2 separate regions of the Homo sapiens genome follow, and region 1 is linked to region 2. The links are contacts of gene promoters, found by promoter capture Hi-C in blood cells and fetal thymus (Javierre and others, 2016). All regions are on one chromosome and are shown on one strand. Each heading gives the region's core, a stretch centred on a gene start or on the middle of the fragment in contact. The rest is flanking DNA. Distances are from core to core; before and after follow the strand shown.

Region 1 (4,945 bases), core at 1,179-3,678, 130 kb after region 2:
TGAGGCGGGGCCACCAGGGAGTTACCTGTATCTTCCAAACAGGAACAGGCTGGTTCCCATGAGCAGGAGGTAGTTAAGCCCATCACAGAAATGTGAAGGCAGAGCCAGGAGCCTGCCTGCCTCTGTTCTCCATGGGAATTCGGGGTCCGGGGCCAGGACCACCACCCTCCTGCCCAGCACAGCAAGTCCGAGGGGCTGGCAGCCTCTCACCACTCTCTAGCTCTCGCGGTAACAAATCCCCAGAAACACAGTGATGCTGGCGTGAGGATGAAGGGGAGCGAGGGACGCCAGTGAGGCTGGTCTAGCCTTCCTGGGGACAGATGCCAAGAAGTTGTAGGAAATCAGAAAAAAAAAAAAAAAAAAAAGCTTTCAGGGCACATATAGTAGGAGTGTCACTTAAAATGCTGGGGAGACGGAGAACATCAGGCGTGCCCGTGACAGGGTCAGGTGAGTGACGGGACAGCCCTGTGCGGAACGCGGATCATTTTGAAACCAAACCTGAGCTCCTCCTGTTTCAGATCCTGCTGCAGCTGGTGCCCCTGCCTCGGGCAGCAAATTCCCCTCGTGACTCCAATGCCCCTGCCATCTTGGGTCTGGGAGCCTTTGCACCCTGCACGCCACAGGCTCGCCACCTCCTCCCGCCAGCCCCCAGGATGCCTTCCCCACGTGGGGGCCCTTAGTGGCCGGGACCACTTTGGTAGCAGTGCTTACCCCAGCCCCCCAAACCATCAGTTTCTGGGGCCAGCTCCCCATGAAGCAAGAGCCCCAGGAGCAGGGACATCTCCTTCTCTGATGTCCCTGCACCTCCAAGGTCTGGGAGACGCTCATCCCTCTTCTCTGTGGCCTCTGCCTGGGAAAGCTTGGGGGCTTTGTAAGTCAAAGGTTGGTCTTGTGGGAACCTCCCAGTGGGCTGTCCCTGAGCCCTGGAGCCACAGAAACCCCTGCCCCACCCACGATGGCTGTCATCTGAGTCTGCATGGAGGTGTGTCTGTGCCAAGTGAGCACACATGCACCAAGGCGGCCCCTGGCCACCAGGGGCTCTTGAAGTCTGCAGGCGGCCCTTCCTCTCTCTCCCACTCCCCCTGTTGGGGCCACCATTCTGGCTGGCAAGATGGCTGTGATGGCCTCCAGCAGGCCCCCTGCCTCCACCCTTAGCCCCTTCAAGCATTTCCCCAGAGCCACCATCTAAACGACAGCTGTGAGAACTCCTCTGTGCCCCCATTTGTCTCCCACAGTGCCCATATTCATCACCAGCCCACAAGGCCCCTCCTGTCTATGGAGGCCTCCTCAGGACATCTGGGGGCTTCCTGGGCCAGGGTGGGGGGTGCCTGCTCCAGGCTGTTTCTGGCTTGTCCCCTCCCTGGGTGCTGCCTAAGCAGCGGCCTCTGTGTCCTTTCCTTGGACCCTCAGCACCCCTGCATCTAACCTACCCCCACCCCGAGCTTGCCTCAAGACCCAGCATGGACAGGGCCGCCTACCTGAAGGTGTGGGTGGCGGAGGGCTAAGACATTTGGGAGGGCTATGACATTCCGGGACCTTTAAATTCTTTCTCTCTAGGGCAGGATCATAACTGCATACACTTCTAATGGGGAGGGGACCTGGGGAGTGTGACTCCGGTGTGGCCCAGCTCTGAGCTGTGCGGGAGGCATCCCTGGGGTCAGGGGCCTCACAGGTTCACCCAGGGGAGCACAGGCTGCGGACCCTACAACGTGGGTTGCGAAGAGTATATTTTGGATATTTTCGCAAAAATCCAGGAGGAAGCTGTCACTCCTGGTTCAGGCAGCCCCGCCTTCCCCAGTGTGGATCGGCTGCCGGGCTGCGGGGAATCCCACGTGTGTGGGGGAGGGCGTGTCCGCAGACCGTGGGCACCAGCTGGCCTTGGAGAGCGCTCGGCCGGTCACCTCCCTCCTTCTCCCTTCTTCTAGGAAATCAGCAGTGCCAGGGAGTGGAAGGGGCAGCGCCCGTGCCCCGGCGTGCAGGGTGCGCCCGCCTTCCCTCCCTCCTTCCAGCGTTCGCGGTCCTCCTTCCCTGGCAGGGACCCCGCCCCCGAGCCCGCCCCCGCACGGCTGTGCGTCCTGCCATGGGTCCCGGTGCCAGGCCCCGCCGCCCACTGCCGTCCACGCCCCGCCGGCCGCCCCGGCGCCTCCGCCGCCCGCTCCTCGGACCCGCACTGCCAGCCCGGCACCTCCAGGCGAGCCCCGCAGGCCCCGCGTCCGAGCCGAGCTGGGGACGCGCGGGCCGAGCCACCCCGCCCCTGACCGCGGCGCCTCCGCTCCTTCCCCGGCTCACCTGCCCAGCCGCATGGTGCGGGCGGAGACCTCGGGCCGCGGAGACCTCGGGGCGCGGAGACCTCGGGGCGCGGAGAACTTGGGCCGCGGGAGACCTCGGAGAGGAGCAACCTCGGGGCGCGGGAGATCGGCTCTAACTGCGCTCCCGCCGCGCCCGAGGCTCTGAGCGCCCAGCGCGCGGTGTGCTGGAGGCAGCCGTGTCCCCGCCCCGTCCCCGCCCCGCCCCCGGCCTGGCTCCTCTGGCGACCGAGACCGCCCCGGGACAGGAGGCGGGGCGCTGCGCGGCGGCTCCGGAAAGTTCGGCTCTGCCCAGGCGTGTGCCCGTCGGCCGGAGGCGGGACAGAGGCAGGTCGGCCTGTCCGCCTGGACGCGGACCTGGGCGCCGTAGGTGCCCTGGGAAGCGCAGGGGTGGGGGGTACCCGGCAGGAAGGTGGCCAGGGGTGCTGCGGGTGCCGGCGCAGCGAGGGAGGGCACCGTGGGAGGCAAGGGCCGTTCCCCGCGCCGCGCACAATGCGCCGGTCCTGCGGCCCTCCCCGAGCAGGAGTCCGGGGACCCAGGCCCCAAGGCTGGGAGAGCGCCAGGCCCCTGGCCGGCTGCGCTCCGATGATCTCCAGGACTTAAGGCGAGTGAGCTCAGCGACTGCTGAGGAATGAATGACTGAATGAACGCATGCATGAATGGAAGGAGGGAGGGAAAGTGGGCGGGCTCTACCCTCTGGGCCAGCCCCAGCCCGCCCCCACCTAGCCTTGCTCCCCTAGCCTTCTAGGGGTGTGAAGGGCGCTGGCGCAGCCTCTTTGCTTAACACTGGCTCTGAGGATCCCCCGCCGAGAAACCGAGGCAGGCTTGCGGCTCTGGGCTCGTCAGCCTTGGCAGTGGCGTCTGGCCTGGAGTCTGGGGCAGCTGGTTTGGGAAAGGCTGCACCACGCAACCGAGGGTGGGACCCAGAGTCCCTGCTCCTTCCCCACCGCACCCAGCCCACCCCGCCCTCCCTCCCTGATCCCTGCAAGCCAGGTGAGGCCCAGGGGGGACGTGACTCCCTTTCTGCAGAGGCACCTCCGGAAGGGCCTGGGTGAGGCTGCTAGACAGGGCAGCGGGGCACCCTCCTCCCGGAGCCCCCGCCTCTGGGCTGAGGCTCGGATCCCCACCGCCTCCTGCGCATGGAGGAGGCGAGAAGCGCAGGGAGACGGGGGCCCCAGACGGCACCCCGCAGGCTGCCATTCCTTCAACCAAGATGTAGAGAACGCCGTGGACAAAAGCTTTAAAAAAATTCTGAAACCTCTGCCCGTGGGAAGTCAACATTTTTGCGGAGCAGAGAGCCCAGGCACAAAATAAGAAGGCGGAAGAGACGGGCTGGGGGGATAGGGGGGACGGCGGCGGGGAAGGGCAGGGAGGGCGGCGGCGAAGGCGCAGGAAGCCCTGAAGCCGGGCGGCTTCCCCCTCCCAGGCCACGCTGAGAGACGGGGGTTGGGGGGATTTAAAATCGCGCGCCTGGCAGGGGCGGGGCGGGGGCCACCTGCCCTCCGGCGGGAAGAGCTGGGCAGGGCCCGCGGAGTGCAGGGCGGAGGCACTGGCGGTCCGCACCCGGGTGAGGTGAGGCGCGTAACCGCATCTGAGCCGGACTCTTTAGGACGAGTCCCGTCCCTGGAGTCAGAAAACCCGGTCCAGCGCCAGCGTGGACGTGCGCTTCCCGGGACACGCCCAGGGACGCCGGCTAGGACCGGCGAGGCTGGAGGGGTGGCGATGTTGGGGGCTGAGGTTCCTCGCCCCGGGGCGGGCGGCTGCTGGTAAGGGACCGCATGGCCCCGCAGGTGAGGAGGGCGCAGGTGAGGAGGGCGCAGGTGAGCCGGGCGGGCTGCGGGCAGCGCCACCTCCTCCCGGAGGCCCTCCCTGATTGACCGGCCGGGAACCGCGCGCCTCTGGGCCTGCGGCTGAGGTCCGGGGCTGCGCCGCGCCGATGAGCTGACGCCGGGCCGAGCGCTCCACCCCCAGGGCCGGGCGCACCTGAATCCCCTCCACCCGCGGGACTGCGGAGAGGGGGACGGCCCCCGGATACCGCGTGGGGGCTTTGGGAGGATGGGGAATGGGTCCTGGGGGAGCAGAGCCTCCCAAATTAAGGCCTCCCAAGAGCGCGGCCGGTCATCCGCGGCGGCGAAGGGAAGGTGCCCTGTCGGTGCGTCCGGACCCCGCAGCCCCCCAGTGCCGCCCGGGGGCGGTGGGAGAGGGGCCGACACCGCAGGGCCCGCCGTGCTGTGGCCGAGGGGGCAGGTCCAGGCTCTGCTTCCCGGGCAGACGCCGGAGACCCCAGCAAGCCAAGTGCTGCGGGCAGCCCCCCCCCCGCCCCCCCGAGAGAGGGGACGCCGCGTGGAGGCCACAGCCAGGCAGGGGCAGGAAGGCAGCTGGGCCAGAAGGGGACACTGAGGCAGGCCGAGGCGGCCGCGGGGGAGGGTGCCAGGACCAGCCCAGGAACCTCGGAGACCACGGTAAGCGGTGGCTGGTTCAGATCCCAACTCCGGAGCTGTGTGACCCCAGAAAGTTCCTTAGCCCCTTGGTGCCTGCATCCCCTGACGTGTGACATATACATGAATGGGGCTGTTGTAAGTGAACGCACACAGCACACCGGCACATGTGTCACAACACTTAGATGGGTTTAGATGAAG
Region 2 (4,821 bases), core at 820-3,319:
TTTTGGTAATTTTGTGATATTTCAAAGTTTATTATACCTGTGAGGGTGATTTGTGATCATCTTTGCTGTTGCTATCGTGATTGTTCTGGGGTGCCGTGATCCGTGCCCATGTAAGACAGCGAGCTTAATCGGTAAGCACTGTGTGTGCTGTGCCTGCTCCACCGACCGGCTGTTCCCCACCCCCCCACGTCTCTCTTCCTCTACTTGGGTCTCCCTATTCCCTGACACAAACAATGCTGAAATTAGGCCAGTTAATAATGGCCTACAGTGGCCACTACGTGTTCATGTGAAAGGAAGAGTCACACAACTCTCACCTGAAATCAGAAGCTAGAAGGGACTCAGCTTAGTGAGGAAGGCATGTCAAAAGCTGAAATAGGCCAAAAGCCAGGTCTCTGCCACCAAACAGGCAAGTTGTGAATGCAAAGAAAAAGCTTTTGAAGGAAATTAAAAGTGCTACTCCAGTGAACACACAAATTACAAGAAAGCCAAAATAGCCTTATTGCAGATACGGATAAAAGTTTGAGTGATCCAGATAGAAGATCAAACCAGCCACAACATTCCTTTAAGCAAGTCAAAGCCTAATGCACAGCAAGGCCCTACCTGTCCTCTGTTCTGTGAGGGCTGAGGTGAGGAAGCTGCAGGAAAGAAGTTGGAAGCTAGCAGAGGTTGGTTCATGAAGTTTAAGGAAAGAAGCCATCTCTACAACATAAAAGTGCAAAGCGAAGCAGCAAGTGCTATGGAGAAGCTGCAGGAAGTTATCCAGAAGATCTAGCTGAGATCATTGATGAAGCTGACTACACTAAACACAAAATTTCAATGGAGACAAAACAGCCTTCTATTGGAAAAAGATGGCCAGGCGCAGTGGCTCATGCCTGTAATCCCAACACTTTGGGAAGCCAAGGTAGGCAGATCATTTGAGGCCAGGAGCTTGAGACCAGCCTGGCCAATATGGTGAAACCCCGTCTCTACTAAAAGTACAAAAATTAGCCAGGCATGGTGGCACATTCCTGTAATGCCAGCTACTCAGGAGGCTGAGGTGGAAGAATTGCTGGAACCTGGGAAGCAGAGGTTGCAGTGAGCTGAGATCGTGCCAGTACACTCCAGCCTGGGCAACAGAGCAAGACTCTATCTAAAAATAAATAAATTAAAAAAAAAGAAAAAGATGCCATCGAGGACTTACATAGCTAGAGAAAAGTCAGTGTCTGGCTTCAAACAACAGGCTGACTCTCTTATTAGGGGCTAATGCAGCTGGGGCCATTAAGTTGAAGCCAGTGCTAATTCACTGTTCTGAAAATCCTAATGCCCTTCACAATGATGCCCAAGCTACTCTGCCTGTGCTCTATAAGTGGAACAGCAAAGTCTGGACGACAGCACATCTGTTTACAGCATGGTTTCCTGAATCTTTCCAGCCCATTGTTGAACCCACTAAGGTTCCTTTCAAAATATTTCTGCTGTTGGACAACGTACCTGGTCACCCATGAGCTCCAATGGAGACGCATAAGGAGATGCTGTCTTCATGCCTGCTAACACCACATCTCTTCTTCAGCCTACGGGAGTAACTTTAACTTTCAAGTCTTACCATTTAAGAAATATATTTTATAAGGCTCTAGCTGCCAAAGATAGTGATTCCTGTAATGGATCTGGGAAAAGCCAATAAAAAGCTTTCTGGGAAGGAGTCGCCATTCTAGTTGTCATTTCATGATTCATTCAATGAGGGCAAAGTGTCGACATTAACAGGAGTCTGACAGAAGTTTAGTATCAAGCCTCATGGATGACTTTGAAGGGTTCGAGACTTTGGTGGAAGAAGTTACTGCAGATGCAGTAAAGATAGCAAGAGGATTCGAAATGAAAGCAGAGCCTGAAATGGGACTGAATTGCCGCAATGTTGCCATCAATCTTGAATGAATGAGGAGCTGCTGCTTGTGGATGAGCAAAGCAAGTGGTTTCTTTTCTTTTTTTTGAGACAATGTCTCACTCTTGTCCCCCAGGCTGGAGTGCTATGGCATGATCTTGGCTCACTGCAACCTCCACCTCCTGGGTTCAAGCAATTCTCCTGCCTCGGGCCCCCCTACCAAGTAGCTGGGATTACAGGCGCCTACCACCACGCCCAGCTAATTTTTGTATTTTTAGTAGAGAAGGAGTTTCATCATTGTTGGCCAGGCTGGTCTAGAACTCCTGACCTCAGGTGATCCACCCGCCTCAGCCTCCCAAAGTGCTGGGATTACAGGTGTGAGCCACCATGCCCGGCCAGCAAGTGGTTTCTTGAGATGGAATCTACTTCTGGTGAGGATGCTGTAAAGACTGTTGAAATGACAACAAAGGATTTAGAATATGACATCAACTTAGTTGATAAAACGCTGGGAGCATTTGTGAGGATTGACTCCGGTTTTGAAAGAAGGTCTGTTGTGGGTAAAATGCTATCAAACAGTATCACATGCTACAGAGACATCTTGTGAAAGGAAGAGTCCATCGATACGGCAAGCTTCACTGTTGTGTTAGGAATTGGCAACGGCCACCCCGTTTTCAGCAGCTGCCACTGTGCCTGGTCAGCAGCCATCCACATCGAGGCAGACTGTCTGCCAGCAAAAAGATGAAGACTCACTGAAGGCTCAGATGATTGTTAGCATTTTTTAGCAGTAAAGTGTTTTTAAATTAAGGGATGCACGTTGTTGCTTTAGACAGAATGCTTGTGCACACTGATAGACTACAGCACACATGAGTAGACTGCAGCGCACACCAATAAAGTACACACTTCGACGACAGTACACACGAACAGACTACAACTCACACGAATAGAGCACAGTGCACGCTTACAGACTACAGCACACGCTAGTAGACTACGCCGTACTGTTTACAGTATGGTGTAAACACAGCTCGGCTGCTTATGGGGAAGCTGGAATGTGTGTGCCTCACTCAGTTGCAGTGTAAGCGTTATCTGCAGCATCTCCGCGGGATTCCTGTAGCCCCTTATTTTCCATTTTTCTAGCAACAGTGTTACATGGGTGCACTGTCATGGTGGTTAATTCCTGTTGGGCACTTAGCTTGCTTCTGGTATTTTGATGTCACACTGAGGCGGAATAATCCTCTCATCATATCATCCTGGAAGCAGAATTGATGTATCCAAAGCCCATTTTTAAGGCTTTTAATGCATTTCACTAGAGTTCCTCCAGGGACAACGTCATTTCTTTTTCTTTTTTTTTTTGAGACAGAGTCTTGCTCTGTCACCTAGGCTGGAGTGCAGTGGTGCGGTCCCAGCTCACTGCAACCTCTGCCTCCCAGGTTCAAGCGATTCTCCTGCGTCAGCCTCTTGAGTAGCTGGTATTACAGGCGCCCACCACCACGCCTGGCTAATTTTTTGGGTTTTTTTGTTTGTTTGTTTGTTTTGAGGCAGAGTCTTGCCCTGTCGCCCAGGCTGGAGTGCAGTGGTGCAACCTTGGCTCACTGCAAGCTACACCTCCCGGGTTTACGCCATTCTCCTGCCTCAGCCTCCTGAATAGCCGGGACTACAGGCGCCCGCCACCACACCCGGCTAATTTTTTGTATTTTTAGTAAAGACGGGGTTTCACCGTGTTAGTGAGGATGGTCTCAATCTCCTGACCTCGTGATCCGCCCGCCTTGGCCTCTCAAAGTGCCGGGATTACAGGTGTGAGCCACCGCGCCTGTCCAATTTTTTGTTTTTTGTTTTTATAGTAGAGACGGGGTTTCACCATGTTGACCAGGCAGGTCTCGTACTCCTGACCTTATGATATGCCCGCCTTGGCCTCCCAAAGCACTAGGATTATAGGCGTGAGCCACCGTGCCCGGCCAACAATGTCATTTCTTTTTCAGGAGTGGGGGGTATCCACAGATGAGCTCTGGCTTGTGGGGTCCAGTAAGATTGGAGGCGCTACTTGGGGAGGGTGAGCCGCTGGTCCCAGGCCAGGCCTGGCCTGTCTCCCTCATGTGACTTGAGGACCAACAGCACACTGTGGTTTTTGTCTTTATCAGCAACAAATCTGACACGCTGCCCCTGGCCACTCGGTACAACGTCAAGTGCGTGGGGCTGTCCCCGGATGGCCGCCTCGCTATCATCGTCGATGAAGGTACTTGCCCTTGATGTGGGCGGGTACTGAGGGGACCAGTGAGGAGGACTCAGGGCTGTGTGGGTCTGAAATGATCCGCTCCCCAGTCGCCTCCGTGTTGGGGCCCGGGTGGGGATTGGGGATGAGGGTGTCATGGGCGAGGCTGCGTCCCCGCCGCAGGCTGTGTCTGTGGCATCACCTGTGGCAGGGCAGGGCCTCATGGCCCTTGGGCATTCTCAGTCCTGACTCCTCACAGTGGACGCGAGAAAGACCTTTCTCCGTTTTTCCCGTGCTATGTATCTGGGGTGGCCCCTGGGGTAGCTGCGCGGTGGTGACCTCTGGCGTCCTGCAGGGGGCGATGCGCTGCTGGTCAGCCTGGTCTGCAGGTCTGTGCTGCACCACTTCCACTTCAAGGGCTCTGTGCACAGTGTGTCCTTCTCCCCTGATGGCAGGTAAGGGGGACAGCTTGGGGGCAGGAGGGTTCGGCCGTGCATGCCGACGGTGAGGCCCACTGCCCAGCTCGTTTCCCTGGGCCCCGGGTTGTGACGTTGGGTTGGGCACACGGCCCAAGCTCTGGCATTGGTGACCCCCTTTTCTGGAGGAGAAGGCTTGGTGCGGCCAGGCTGCCCTCCCTCCAGGGCTGTTTCTTCCCTGACTTTTGCTTCCTCTGCTCCTTGGCCTCCATCCTGCAGGAGGCGGGACTCCAGAAGGCCCAGGTGGGTGCAGGCTGAGACTCCACAGTGGCCTTAGGGCCATTGCT

What was found. Contacts are between HindIII fragments. The CHiCAGO score rates a contact against its expected background, and 5 or more counts as called.
Region 1: a contact is called between the fragment with the promoter of ICOSLG here and a fragment that was not itself captured in region 2, in 1 of 17 cell types (total B cells). The highest score is 6.5, in total B cells.

What each region holds. Positions count from the first base shown.
Region 1 is chr21:44,238,515-44,243,459 of GRCh38, forward strand. ICOSLG (inducible T cell costimulator ligand) reads right to left here and starts at 2,429. Exons shown (of 7, transcript NM_015259.6): 1 at 2,290-2,429. The coding sequence starts at 2,303. RefSeq lists enhancers at 906-1,684, 4,189-4,727 and cis regulatory regions at 2,240-3,239, 2,240-3,164, 2,240-3,155. The HindIII fragment of the contact is 2,685 bases long and covers 858-3,542 here.
Region 2 is chr21:44,109,766-44,114,586 of GRCh38, forward strand. It overlaps PWP2 (PWP2 small subunit processome component), which reads left to right. Exons shown (of 21, transcript NM_005049.3): 3 at 3,988-4,082; 4 at 4,414-4,513. Among named protein-coding and RNA genes, the nearest start is that of PWP2, 4.8 kb to the left of the region's middle. RefSeq lists a silencer at 1,348-1,550 and an enhancer at 4,223-4,517. The HindIII fragment of the contact is 821 bases long and covers 1,660-2,480 here.